Regions from separate parts of the Homo sapiens genome. Here regions 1 and 2 are each linked to region 3. The links are contacts of gene promoters, found by promoter capture Hi-C in blood cells and fetal thymus (Javierre and others, 2016). All regions are on one chromosome and are shown on one strand. The core of a region is centred on a gene start or on the middle of the fragment in contact, and the rest is flanking DNA. Distances in the headings are between cores, read along the strand shown.

What was found. The method cuts DNA at HindIII sites, captures the fragments that hold promoters and counts their contacts. A CHiCAGO score of 5 or more calls a contact.
Region 1: a contact is called between a fragment that was not itself captured here and the fragment with the promoter of FKBP14 in region 3, in 1 of 17 cell types (activated CD4 T cells). The highest score is 7.3, in activated CD4 T cells.
Region 2: a contact is called between the fragment with the promoter of SEC61G here and the fragment with the promoter of FKBP14 in region 3, in 1 of 17 cell types (total CD4 T cells). The highest score is 8.6, in total CD4 T cells.

What each region holds. Positions count from the first base shown.
Region 1 is chr7:111,563,046-111,567,823 of GRCh38, forward strand. No RefSeq gene overlaps it. Among named protein-coding and RNA genes, the nearest start is that of IMMP2L, 2.9 kb to the left of the region's middle. The HindIII fragment of the contact is 1,653 bases long and covers 1,671-3,323 here.
Region 2 is chr7:54,757,750-54,762,560 of GRCh38, forward strand. It overlaps SEC61G (SEC61 translocon subunit gamma), which reads right to left and starts at 1,462. Exons shown (of 4, transcript NM_014302.4): 1 at 1,409-1,462. It overlaps SEC61G-DT (SEC61G divergent transcript), which reads left to right and starts at 1,564. Exons shown (of 3, transcript NR_110040.1): 1 at 1,564-1,775. RefSeq lists a silencer at 1,112-1,431 and an enhancer at 1,665-2,600. The HindIII fragment of the contact is 2,422 bases long and covers 1-1,872 here.
Region 3 is chr7:30,023,740-30,028,160 of GRCh38, forward strand. It overlaps FKBP14 (FKBP prolyl isomerase 14), which reads right to left and starts at 2,963. Exons shown (of 4, transcript NM_017946.4): 1 at 2,573-2,963. The coding sequence starts at 2,769. It overlaps FKBP14-AS1 (FKBP14 antisense RNA 1), which reads left to right. Exons shown (of 3, transcript NR_187577.1): 3 at 1,648-3,502. RefSeq lists an enhancer at 3,219-3,368. The HindIII fragment of the contact is 9,298 bases long and covers 1-4,421 here.

The DNA.
Region 1 (4,778 bases), core at 1,247-3,746, about 82 Mb after region 3:
TCTGTCGCCAGAGCGACACTGCAATCTCCGCCTCCCGGGTTCACGCCATTCTCCTGCCTCAGCCTCCCTAGTAGCCGGGACTACAGGCCCCCGCCACCATGCCCGGCTAATCTTCTTGTATTTTTAGTAGAGATGGGATTTCACCGTGTTAGCAAAGATGGTCTCCATCTCCTGACCTCGTGATCCGCTCACCTAGGCCTCCCAAAGTGCTAGGATTACAGGCGTGAGCCACTGCGCCCGGCCGAATGGTACAAACTCTTAACTGGGTTATTACAACCTACAAAGAAACCTTCTTATCCATGTTATTAATTATCCTAATTCAATGTGGTTTAAAATGTTGATGAAAGTACCCAAATCATGGTGCTCCAACAAGCTGGATGCCAACCAGGTACTCGTAAGTACTTGCAATTACAGGTGCGATATTTTCATTCCATATCATCCCAAGATGCCCTTCCTTCACGTGAAGCAGCCAGAAAGATCAACTACCAGATTCCGCATGATTGAGGAATTGATAAATAGAAAGGGAAGACCGAAACCGGCCAAATTTTCCCTTCGAAGTGAAACTTGAGAAACTTGCGTGCATTTTACCTGAGTTCCTTTCTCAGCAGATAAACTGTCAGACCTCCCAGATAGTGTCAAGGAAATGCAACTTTCCAGAACACTACATCTGGACAATGAGGTGCATCTGCTGCCTGTTCACAAACTCCTCTTCCTTACCCCTCCATAATTCCCTGCTATAGAAAGCCCTAACTTTAGTCTCCCTAAGACATGTTTGAGACTGGTCTCCCTGCCAGCATCACCTGCATTAAAGCCTGTCTTCCCTGGCAATACTCGTTGTCTCAGGGACTGGTTTTCTTTGCTAGGAGCAACCCAACCTAGGCTGAAGCCCAGGCATTTAGCAGCAGTGGCACCTAGAAATACTGAACAGACATAAAATACTTTTTTTCTCCTTTTCTTACTCCTCCAGTTGTATCTTCATTATTTCTGTCTCTATTCTCCCTCTAGATACTGCCAAACTACTCTGTGCACTTTCAGATCACTTAATACTAATGTAAATAACAGACATTCTGGCACTCTTGGTTCAAAATTTATTCTAAAGGTTTAAGAATCTACTCAGGGTCTTAAATAGCCTGATAACTAAAATTCCAAGAGTTTCCTAAAGAGAGCAAAATTGCTCTCCTGTGAAGGGGATATGTCCCAGTTTTTCTTACTTGTCACTGAAATAATTACTGCAAAGTAAGCTCTTTTCGGCCAGTGCTTAAGGACTTAATTTCAAGAGCACTTAGGTGACAGGACCACCCTCATCAAATAGCAGTCAAGAACTATTTGGTACCATGACCCCAAATTGAATGGAGCTCCTGGTCACTAGGAACTGACAGTCTGGGATGGAATGTAGGTGAATAAACAACAAAGACAGGTGTTTATGGCCTTTATTGTATTGGGAAGTCAATAAACATACAAAAAGAGTTGCTAGGTCTGGCCTGATTTTATCACTAAGATTCATCAAGTGTACTTAAAAAGAAGCTAATATCTGGAAAGGGCAGAACTATGGTATATTAGTCAGGGTTTCCTAGAGGGACAGAACCAATAGGATAGACATATAAATATAAAGAGGAGTTTATTAAGTATTAACTTACATGATGACAAAGTCCCACAATAGGCTGTCTGCAAGCTTGAGGAGCAAGAGAGCCAGTCCGAGTCTCAAAATTGAAGAACTTTGAATCCGATGTTTGAGGGCAGTAAGCGTCCAGCACAGGAGAAAGCTGTAGGCTGAGAGACTAGGCCAGTCTCTCCTTTTCATGTTTTTCTGCCTGCTTTATATTCACTGGCAGCTTATTAGATGGTGCCCACCCAATTAAAGGTGGGTCTGCCTTTCCCAGCCCACTGACTCAAATGTTAATCTCCTTGGCAACACCCTCATAGACACACCCAGGATCAATACTTTCTATCCTTCAATACATTCAAGCTGACACTCAGTATTAACCATCACATATGGAGACAGTAAAAAGATCAGTGATTGCCAGAGGTCACAGAGGAGGGGGATATGAAGCACAGATTTTTAGGGCAGTGAAACTATTCTGTATGATATGATAATGGTGATGCATGTCATTATACATTTGTCCAAACCCATAAAATATACAACCCAAAGAGGGAGCCTTAATATAAAATCTCAACTTTGGGTGATAATGATGTCAATGTAAGTTCATCAATTGTAACAAATATACTGCTCTGGTACAGGATATTCATAGTCAGGGAGGCTGTGCAGATGTGGGGTACAGGAATATATAGGAACCCTATACTTCCTGCTCAATTTTGCTCTGAACCTGAAACTGATCTTTGGGAGAAAAAAGTTTATGAGAAAAAGAAGCAGCAGTTAGAGCATCCTATTTTATTCTAATTTATCAATTAAATTCTAAGCTGAATATTTGGCTTTATGTATCTAGTTCAAATATATTTGCCTTGTCTCCTTATATATTAAAGCAGACCTCTATTTGTTGTTAATACCATCAGGGGAAAATGAATCATAAAGTCCTAACTAAGGTACAAATTTAAACTATAGTTAGGCATCAAATCTAATGGTCAAAGAGATATTTAAACAAAGTTAAAATAATTAAGTTTACAGATTCCACAAATATAGATATTAAAATATATTCCTATCTATACATACTTACCATTGGTAAGCAAATAATAGAAGGTATCATAGAGTAGCAGTTCTCAAACTACTTTTTGATCTCAAGTTCTCTTTACATTCTTAAAAATGATTGAGAACTTTAAAGAGCTGTTGTTTATGTGGGTTATATATGTCCATATTTACTGTATTAAAATTTAAGATAGAAAAATGTTAGACATGTGTTTGCTTAATTTAAACCCATTACATGTTACTGTAAAAGTTATTTTTATAAATAATGACTACTTTTTTTCCAAAAAATTAGAGAAAAGTGGCATTTTTAACATTTTATAAATCTCTTATTATCTGGCTTAAGGAGAGCACTGGATTCTCATATTCTGCCTCTGCATTCAGGCTGTTGTGATATGTTGTTATACCTAAGATATGAAGAAAATTAACTGTCATACGAATTCATAGTTGAAAAAGAGAGGACCTTACAAAGCTCCGGGAAGGGTTTCAGTAACCCCTAGGTGTTCTCAAACCTCACTTGGAGAATTACTGCCAAATGGCCTTTTGCATTTCATTTGTTTGAATGTCATATATTTCCACACAGGCTTCTGTTAACACCTGAAATTATAGCCCTTTACTTATTTCAAGCTAAAACTCATATTTGTCAGCTCATATCAAACCATGACATTTCAATAAAGTTTTTAAAAGCTTTTACTATAGCAACTCTGATGAAATTGATATTATTATTTGAATTGATATGAAAACACTTGAGATTTCATTTATATCCTTCATCTCAAACGTTTTGGAAAATTTTGAATATAAATTGTACCATCTGGAAAAAATGTAAGATTGGTATATAGTTATTAATCCAATTTTAGGTATGCTTATAACAAGGTATATCCCCTTTTATAAAAATAATTTAAAAGCGAGCTTAAAACAAAAACAAAACAAGCAATTACAGTTTTATTTATGAACTAAATACTTGATTCTAAACTTACTACCTTGGAATAAAATTTTAAATATATAACCTTTCATTTTTATTACAAATAAAAATAATGTAAATCATCCAGTTTGGGGTTTTTTAATACAATTTCCAACTAAAAGAAACTAGAGCTGACCAACCAAATGTCTGACTTCAGATCTGGGTCAGGTTATACACAAGATGAGCATAGGATAACTTGTCCCACAAAGCCGGGAATCCATTAACAACAAAATGTGTCAAAGGGACACAGAAACCAATATCAAATAGCTCCTTTGGCCAAAGATGGACAATTTAAGCATCAAAAAAAGTAATGGATGCAGTTGTTAGAAACATACTGAATATATAAAAATTCATGAGTTCTTAATGATGTTCCAAAAAGGGGAGGTCAATAAAAGGAAAAAAAAAATCCACTGGACACTATTGCAAGTAGCTAGCATTAAGCCCTTATTCTAAAATTGTCCATTAAAAGAAAATAATTCAAATTTTCTGATGTATCTTTCCTGATTAAACTATATATCAGAAAACCAAATTGGTGTTGAGGGAAAGTTGTTTTTTATAATAAATATGAAACAACAGAATTGGAAACCCACCATTTAGCAATCTTGCATTTAATAAATGATTCAGGCAACCATCATCAATGGATCAAACCAACAGATGAAATGTTCATGAGGAACTTCACAATGGAGATCAGACCGTCACTACCTCAGCCTAATAATCTGTCATTACAAGTGGGACTCCAGACATTGTGTGCTTCCTGATCTAATGCCATCTGAAGCACTCAGCACAACTATGAAATGTTATCACCCAAAAAACATGAATGGGATCTAATCAAGCCTTAAAACTGACTTCTCACTTACAGGCTTACAAAAAACATGAGGGTTACAGGAATAAGTTAAATGACACCACAAAGAGGCTGGGCGCAGTGGCTCGCACCTATAATCCCAGCACTTTGGGAGGTCGAGGAAGGTGGATCACTTGGGGCCAGGAGTTCAAGACCACCCTGGGTAACATGGTGAAACCCTGTCTCTACTAAAAATAAACAATGAGCCAGGCATGGTGGTGCGTGCCTATAATCCCAGCTACTCAGGAGGCTGAGGCAGGAGAATCGCTTGAACCCGGGAAGCGGAGGTTACAGTGAGCCAAGATGGCACCACTGCACTCCAGCCTGGATGACAGGGT
Region 2 (4,811 bases), core at 212-2,711, about 25 Mb after region 3:
CCTAAATTGATATTATTTTTGGAAATTTCAGTTAATTATCAAAGGCAATAAGAAAAGCACAGATCTTACTCATGATATCTTCACTGACAAAGAACAGCACACGCAATATAAAAAGCCTATCTCTATTAAAAGGTTAAAAAAGGTTACGCAATTGGTAACACATCCATTCCTTTTCTCACTCTGCAGTCCCATCCATTTCTCATTCTACAGTCCCCTCACCGCTCCTAAGGAACCATCAGTGTTGAGATCCAACAATTACTTTCCATATTTTATTTTAAACTACGCAGAAGCCAGTGTCTTGTACAGTGAATGCCAACTACGGTGCTGCAAGAGCCTAGAATAGAGGCAAACGTGAATTTCAACCTTGATTTTTCTAAAACGTGCCAATACAACATACTTTTCTAAAGTATAAAGAATGGCTAAAGGAAGACGCAAATTCTGAGAAGCTACTAGCTAAATTTCAAACTTTTCGATTTGAACACATCTTTTAAGGAAACAGGGCTATATATTTTACCATACAGGTTCTTTTGAGGAATCTATTACCCAATAGAAATGTTATCCGATCTTAGCTTTGAGAGCCACTGCTATAGTAAGTAAAGCAGCCAGGGTGTTATTTGTATTTTCCTCCATTTCCAGTACTCAGAACAGTGGCCAGGTGGTAGTTCAAATCACTGGCTATGGAATGTAAACCTCTGTAAGCCCCAGTTGCCTTCCTTAGTGTAGGGTGTGGACAACGAAATGAAATAATGTCAATGAAACACCAGGAATTCTGCAACGTTCTGGGGGCAAAAACACAGTAATGTCTGTTTTCTCAGTATTTCACTCAACTTTGCTCTTGAAATCCAAAGGGCTTAAACTTTTTGTAATCATAGTTGTCACGAAGGAAGCTAAGAATTCTTTATCCAGAAAAACGCACGCTACACACAATACCGCACTCAATGTCAGGGGTAGAGATCCAAAAACCAACTATGATCTCTCGAACTAGACTCTAGACCAATGCTCTCACTTTAAACCACGGAAGCGGCGGCAGGACCAGAGCTGAGTACAGCTCTTCCCAGACAGGACTCCACAACAGCACACAGAGCCAACCCCGAAGGGATCGGGCAGCAGGACATCATCTTTGGCTGCAGCACAGAAGACGCCGGGGCAGGACGCTAAGCCCTGGAGCCCCGCGGGCCGGCCACCCAGCTCGCCGGGAGTCCGCGGCCCTGGGTCTGCCTTCCGCCAGAGGCCGAGTTGGTGGGATGTCGGCGGCCAGACCCCGGCCCTGAGCCAGGGGACCACTTACCGCCCGCCCCGCGACGGCCGCCCGGGGAGACACGCCGGCTCGCCCACGCCCGCTGCCCCCAAGAGTCGCAAAGGTGTGGCCGCCCCGTTCGCCCGTACCGACCGGTGGGAAGAAACTCACCTACCCAACCGACACCTAAAATGCCAGGGACACGTAGCACTGGAGCTTGCTGATGGAGGCCCACCGGAACCGGAATCCGGGTTTCTGCCAACAGCCCGCCCACTCCTCCGTCCTATTGGTTCCTTACGCGAAACCTCAGTGCGCAAGCGCAGCGCGACGTGCGCCCGGCCACGCTTCCTGGAAGAGATGCATTGCGGAGCTCGCTAGTTGGGGCGTTGGCCTTCCTTAGGAGTGTGAGTCTAGCGTTATCCCTTTTTTCCGGCTGGATCCCGGGTTACCCCACCAGCCCGACCTCAACCCACTCACGTCCACAGCACGAGCCCCAGCGGCCTTGCGCGGTGCTTGCTCTCTAGTAGCGGCTGACTAGGTAAATCCTAAGTTGTGGTTTTTTTTCCTGCGGTCCAGCTTGATGTGTGTCCTTACGGTACATACTTTTTGTATGTATATAATGTTGGTCGAAATGAAGCTTATGAGCAATATAATGTTATGGCCTAATTCAAAATAGTATCCCCACCCCAAACTTTGACTTTGGCTGTCATTCACGGTAATGAATGCCGCTGTAATTGAGGCCTTTGTCAAACGCTAGGTTTGGTTACGGGAGTGGTCATAATGTACACACAGCTCCCCACTTACCCACAAGGATGCATTCCAGGAACCCCCCGCCGGATGGCTGAAACCGTCAGTAGAGACGGGGTTTCACCATATTGGCCAGGCTGGTCTTGAACTCCTGACCTCGCGATCCACCCGCCTCGGCCTCCCAAAGTGCTGGGATTACAGACGTGAGCCACCGCGCCCGGCCATGTTTCCTTTTAGCAATGGAGCATAACGGGATCTGAGGAACAATATAACTCAGGAAGAGCTGATGGAACATTAAGACGTGTTACAACTCTCAGTGCTTCTTAAACTTCTTCAGTAACTGAAATCTCCTGTTAAGTTTTTTAGTAAATGAAATTTGTAACCCCAGAACCTCCAGATATTGATTCAGTGGGTCAGGGTTAGAGGTCACACACCTCCGTATATCTGACTGTAGGTGGTCCATACACACTACACATACCTTGCCTTAGCTTTAAGAGTCACTTTTAAATTCTGAACAGACTGAGATGCGTTTGACTAGTTCTTCATCCCTGGGACTTCAGCCCATGTGTCATCTCCTTAGAGGCCTATAGTGACCATCTAAGGCAATCCTGTCTATCTCATGCTCTTTTTTCCTTTTTCACAATACCTTCTTCATTTGCTGCATAGCATTTGTATTAACATTTATTTATTTATTCCTCGGTCTGTCTCCCTACACTGTAAATCCCCTTACTAGACCATAAGCTCCAAGTGGGTATAATATAGCATCTAGTAAAGTGCTAAACACAGTAAATGCTCAATAAATAATTTTCAAAAAAATAATTCATTCCAAAAAAACATAAAATCACATGTTGGCAAGTTCACCCCAACCACCAAATGTCTGAGTTGACAGTATTTTCAGCAAAACACAGAAAATCAAGTAACACATACAGTGGTTCCCCTTATCCAAGAAAATCTGGTTCAAAAAGAGATGTGTACCAGAAGGTAATCTGGGAGAGGCCACATTCAAATAACTTTCATTACAGTGTATTGTTATAATTGTCTACTCACCTGATTTCGGGAGTTTGAGACCAGCCAGACCAACGTGGAGAAACCCCGTCTCCACTAAAAATACAAAAATTAGTCTGGAATGGTGTCGCATGCCTGTAACCCTAGCTACTCAGGAGGCTGAGGCAAGAGAATCCCTTGAACCCGGGAGGTGGAGGTTGCAGTGAGCTGAGGTCACACGACTGCACTCCAGCCTGGGCAACAGAGCAAGACTCCGTCTGTAAAAAAAAAAAAAAAAAAAAACAGGCTGATAACAGCAAATCTGTGCAAAAATACGTAACAATCAGAACTCTAGAACTCTAATTCCTGGTTACTAGGAGTGTAAAATGGCATAACCCTTTTGGGAAAAGTTTAGTAGTTTATCATAATATGAAGCATATATACACCACCTATGGCTCCACAATTCCAATTCCAGGTACTTATTGAAGATATATGAAACTAAATTCACAGAAAGACTTGTACAGGAATGTTCGTAGTAACTTTATTGATAACAGAACTAAAAGCAACAGGGTACCATCAATAGAATGAATAAACATACAGGTATAGTCCCACAACAGAATAGTACTCCATAGCTAAGGAAAGAAAACTCTCTGCCACAACATTGATGAATGACAAACATGGTGAGTGAAACAAGCCTACGCTAAAGAAGGCACAGTGTGCAGTTCCATTTGCAAGAAATTTTAGACAAAGCAAAAATAATGAATGGTGGAAAAAATCAGAACAGTGTTTGCCCGGGGCTACATATTGAGAAGGCGGGTGAGGGAACTGGGGAGTGAATGTAATGCTCTGTAATTTAACAGGTCTTAGGGTTTCACAGGGGTCTTAGTCAACGTGGGCAGCTATAACAGAGTATCATAGAGTGGTGGCTTACACAACAAACATTTATTTCTCACAGTTCTGGAGACTGGAAGTCAGAGATAATGGTCAGGTTCTTGTGAAGGCTTTTACTGGTTTATAGATAGCTACTTTCTCATTGCATTCTCACATTGCGGGAGATGGAGGAAGAGAGAAAGAAAGGACCAGCTCTCCTCCTGGTCGTAAGAACACTAATCCCAACATGGGGCTTCAGCCTCCTGACCTAATTACCTCCCAGAAGCCCCTCATCCAAATGCCATCACATTTGGGCTTCCACATATGAATTTGGAGGCGCACAAACATTCCATCCATAGCAGCAGGTCTGTGCCTTTTTCCTCAAAAAAAAAAAAAAAAAAAAAAAACCTCAACAAGTATTGAGCTCTAGTTAATTATACAATTGTCGATGCATTTAGGAGGGAAATGTACAGGTATCTACAACTTATTTTGATTTTAAAAAGGGCAGGTTCATGGTTAGAGGAATAAACTGGTGATAATGCAAATACAACAAAATGTTAAATGTAGACTTAGTTGTGGTGTAAGATGTTCATTGAATAATTCTTTCAATTTTTCTGTATGTTTAAAAATGTTTATAAGATGGAAAAAAGTCAATATATAGATCACCAAATCAAGTTTTAAAAATTTTGACATAAATTGTACTGAGTGTAAATTGAATGTATATATAGCAGAAATTTTAAATTGCCCCTCAATTTAAAAATACATGAAATATTAATAATATCGTTTGAGATAAGCTGAATTAATATTCCATTTATATTCTTGAATCTCTGCCTGAAGCAAGAAAAAGTTTAAGAAGATCTATGGAGAACCAAGGACTCCATAGCAGCTTTTTGTTTTGTATTACTTCATTTAGGTATGATGACAAAGTGGAAAGAGCTGTATCTTTTTAAAAATGAAGCTGACACAGTGGTTG
Region 3 (4,421 bases), core at 1,713-4,212:
TAGCAGGCAAGAATGAGTGTGCAGAGGAGCTGCCTTTTATAAAACCATCAGATCTCGTGAGACTTATTTACTATCACAAGGAGAACAGCATGGGAAAAACCTGCCCTCATGATTCGATTACCTCCCACCAGGTCCCTTCCACAACATGTGGGGATTATGGTAGCTACAATTTAAGATGAGAATTGGGTGGGGCCATAGCGGAACCCTATCAACTGGGGACGAGGGAAATAGAATGTCCTGGCTCATGAGTTGAAGAGAGTCTAGCCTAGGAAAACCAACCTGCCGAACTACATACAGGGAGGCTTAAGGGCTGAGTAATGCCTGATCCCTACCTAGCTCCCTTTCAGTGCAATAAGGAAAATATTCTATTCAAGGATATCTTGTAGGTGAGAAAAAGAAGTCACTGTACTACGCTTCATGAGTACCATGGTTACTAAATCTGGGTAATGCCATTTTTTCCTGTAATTTTGCCCAATGATCAAAGTAACAAAATGCCAACTGTAGAAAATTTGGGAAGGCTAGAAATGAAAAAAGAAGCAGGAAACATTCTACTACTCATCACTGACTACAATTTTAGCACAGTTCTTCTTAGGGCTAAGCAATTTATCCCATAGGCTATGGTTCTAGAGATGGCAAACGTGCTTACAAACTGATCATTTGATGGTATTTCTTTTTCTTCAGAGCGGAGTCTCGCTCTGTTGCCCAGGCTGGAGTGCAGCGGCGCAATCTTGGCTCACTGCAGCCTCCGCCTCCTGGGTTCAAGCGATTCTCCTGCCTCAGCCTCCTGAGTAGCTGGGATTACAGGTGCCCACCACGCCCAGATAACTTTTGTATTTTTAGTAGAGACGGGGTTTCACCATGTTGGCCAGGATGGTCTCAAACTCCTGACCTCGCGATCTGCCTGCCTCGGCCTCCCAAAGTGCTGGGATTACAGGCGTGAGCCACCACGCCCAGCCAATTTGATGGTATTTCTTCATGAAGTTTACAGTTAGCAGCTTCTGACCATTTACATGGAGGCTGCATGATAACAGTCCCCTCATCAGGTATTAGAACTTAGTAGCAAACTGCTAAATAATATTCCATGGCTACCACCAAAGTCAGCACAGGTTTTTGGTTCAGAAATCTGAAAGAAGTCAGGCTGAGTCTAAAAGAGATCAGACTAAAAATAACAATATAACTGAATTTTCAAAATGCAAATCACATCATTTAATATCCACCGTGGCACTCACCTAGTTGACAAGAAGAAAGGGCTGTTGAGAATTCTAAGGCAAGCCATTTTTCTGGAACTTTTTCCCAGGGCTAACAGTTTAGAGAAGAGCCCCATTCATTTCCCCAACCCTCAAGACAGACCAGGTCTGAATGCCCAGTAAAGGCAGTTTATTAGAAAATCAGGTGGAGGATGGGCTATGAAGATTTACTGTTTTAATTCATGTTATTCCCTCTACCTACAACATCCTTCCCTACTTTCCCCCTGGAAACCTCCACCCATCTTCCAAGGTTCATTTCAATTATGGTCTCTGGGAAGTCTTTCCCTTTCCCCACCCCATGGAGCCTAACTACTTCAGGCCCAGTTACGCTTTGCTAGCACTTTGAATATTCTGTACCCTATATCATTGCATTATTTACTTGTCTTTCTCCCACCTGTAGATGGTGTATACTGTTAGAGGACAAGAACCTGCTTCTAGCCATCTTTGCGTCTCCAGGACCTGACTTGTGACCATTCAATAAGAGTTTGATAGATGGACAGACTAATGAATAGATGAAGATGATTAGAAGCCAAAATTTCTGAATCTTCCTAGCACCCAGAACATGGCTTAACATCAAGGAAATGCTCACTAAATACTGTCATAATGGAATGAATGGAACCGATGCCTAATTGAAAATCATTAGGCTGTAAACCATTTCCATGTTCCAATTTCTTCGTTTATAGAACAGAAATGATAGTGTAACCACCTGAAAATCCTTCACCTAGACTTCCAAAACCACACCCACCTCATCAATGAAGTCTGACTCTCTAGAAAGAAGCAAATGACTGAAATCATGGTCCTGTGCCTTGACCAAAATACCATTCGTCAGAACAAAAGAAGTAGGTCAGTGAAACGGCATTAGTATATCCTTCAACAGGCAAATAAGTGATAGTGTAGTTTGCTTTTGAAGTCGCTGTGAAAAGTTTTAGGTGAACATCACCTACACCACATTAAAAATGGAATCAAGTCATTTTCTTTAAGAAATGGAGTTTGAGATATGAGAATTCTTTTGGGCTTTTTCTACTTATTGGCCAATTATACACCCAGATATATTTCTGCAATATTTCAAAGATTCTAGTTCTAATTTGTATAATAAAAAAAATTAACAGCCTTTTCCAGACCACATGTTTCCAACAAGACCTTCAAAGGCCTCGCTCGCTATATAAAACTGGCTTTAAACAATTTCCTTTCCCAAAGAAGGAAATAAGATATTTCGGTTTTGTAAAAGAGGCAAAACCAGGTACAGGCCACCTTTCCTGCTGGAGAGCTGGCATAAGTGAGTGGATTCTTAATTACTATTTTACCTGCGGGGCATAATTACTTACGTGGAGTGAAATAAGGAGCCGTCCTTTTCTAAGTAGCCTTCATAGTGGACCAACATCAAATCCCCTCCTTTGGTCTTGCGATGGCAGATGAATGGCTTCTGGAGAACTTCAATTTTCACTTCTGGTTCAGGGATCAAAGCCCCAATCAAAGAAGTGACGAACAGAGTCAAGACCGCGTTCCACAAGAAAAGCCTCATGTTGCTGAAGCAAGGAAAGAAGTCCCTACAAAAGCAGCGAAAGGTCCCTCGACTTCATAGATTTAAGAACGTAGTTCAAGGCTTACGGACAAGGGCTTCAGACAAGTTCAGGACTCCCCCTTCTTAGAAGACGTGGCACATTTACCACCAACTCTTTTCTCAAGGGTCACGAACCTACCTTTAAAGAGTTAAGCCCAAATGCCGGCCTGACTGGCTCTTATAACGCGGCCGCCTGGGAATAGCAGCCTCCCATTGGCTATTGGTGCTGTCCTTCAGGCAGCTCTCAAGCCAATGACGCTGCAACGATGGAATTTACAGCCCGGTAGAGCCGGGCAGCTGCCAAGCGGCGGATCATCCCTTGTGGTCCTAGAGCCCGGTGGATTTCAGCATTCAACCAGCGTGGATTTTGGGAGAGGGGCGGGGCGCAGAGCCAACCGGAAACTCCTCCGGCTGATTTATCTCTGTGAAGAACCCTGCTGAGAGACGTAGGAAGAGTCCCGGGGCCCTATGAAATCTTCGGGGTTCCAGGAAAGACTCGTTTACTCTCGCCGTTGGAGAGCGGCCCCCCAAGATGCCACAATCCTAGGATTTTGCTATTGCTTATAAACTGTAAAGACTGACATACTGCTTGAGGGTTCACAAAGCGCGTTCCCGTTGCATGAACCTCACTACACCCAGTAAGGCAGGTTCTTTTTTCCCATTTAAAAGAGAAGTAAATTTACACCAGGAGATATTAACTGTCCTGCTTAAGGTTGTTTGGCCCCGAAGCAAATGAGCTCTGCCTTCAAACCAGGTCTGATTCATTCCACAGCACCACGTCATGTTATGGCTGCTAATAATTTATCCCTTAAGTTACCTTACAGGGTAAATAATGAGTTTCGACTTGCAGACTTCCGCTTTAAAGAAGAAATGGTAATCATGGTTACGAATTACACAGCCTCATCGTAGTTTACATTTTCTAGTTTTACATTTTTTGCCTAAGTTCAAAAGTAATGCATGTTCATTGAAGTCATTTTGGAAGAAATTGGAAAGCACTAAAGTAAGATTTCCAGATAATATTGGGGAGTCGAATCAAGTTGGAATTTCAGATACATAACGAATAATGGTTTTGCATTTTTATTTACTAAATCAGGCAACTTTAAAGAAAAAGAAAGCTCGCCGATACCACCACCAGCCGCAAACAATCCTCTTAATATTTTGGTGCATGCTTCTGTGACATATACTTAAAGCGATTTAAATCGTATTGTAGTCTTTTCTCACCTCCTCTTTCCACTTAATCTGTAGTTAACATTTTTTCTGGTCTAATAACCTTAACACAGTGCATATCCGCACTCTATGTGCATAGGAATCCCCCTGAAGATCTTGTTTAAAATGCAGATTTTGATCTGGAGGTCTGGGGTGGGTGCAAGATTCTGCATTTCTAACAAGCTCTTAGGTGATGTCAGTGCTCCGGGTCAGTAGATCAACACTTCCATAGTGAGACCTTAGAGTCTGGACAACATCTGTTTACACTGGCCTCATAGTATTCTACCCTGAAATTCCAATAATCTCTTTACGCCCTGTTATTGGTTACCTCAAGTGTGTGAGATCAATTAGGCAGCTTTGGAACAAGAATAGGGACTAGAACTCAGGAGGTATCGTGAGAGGTCACG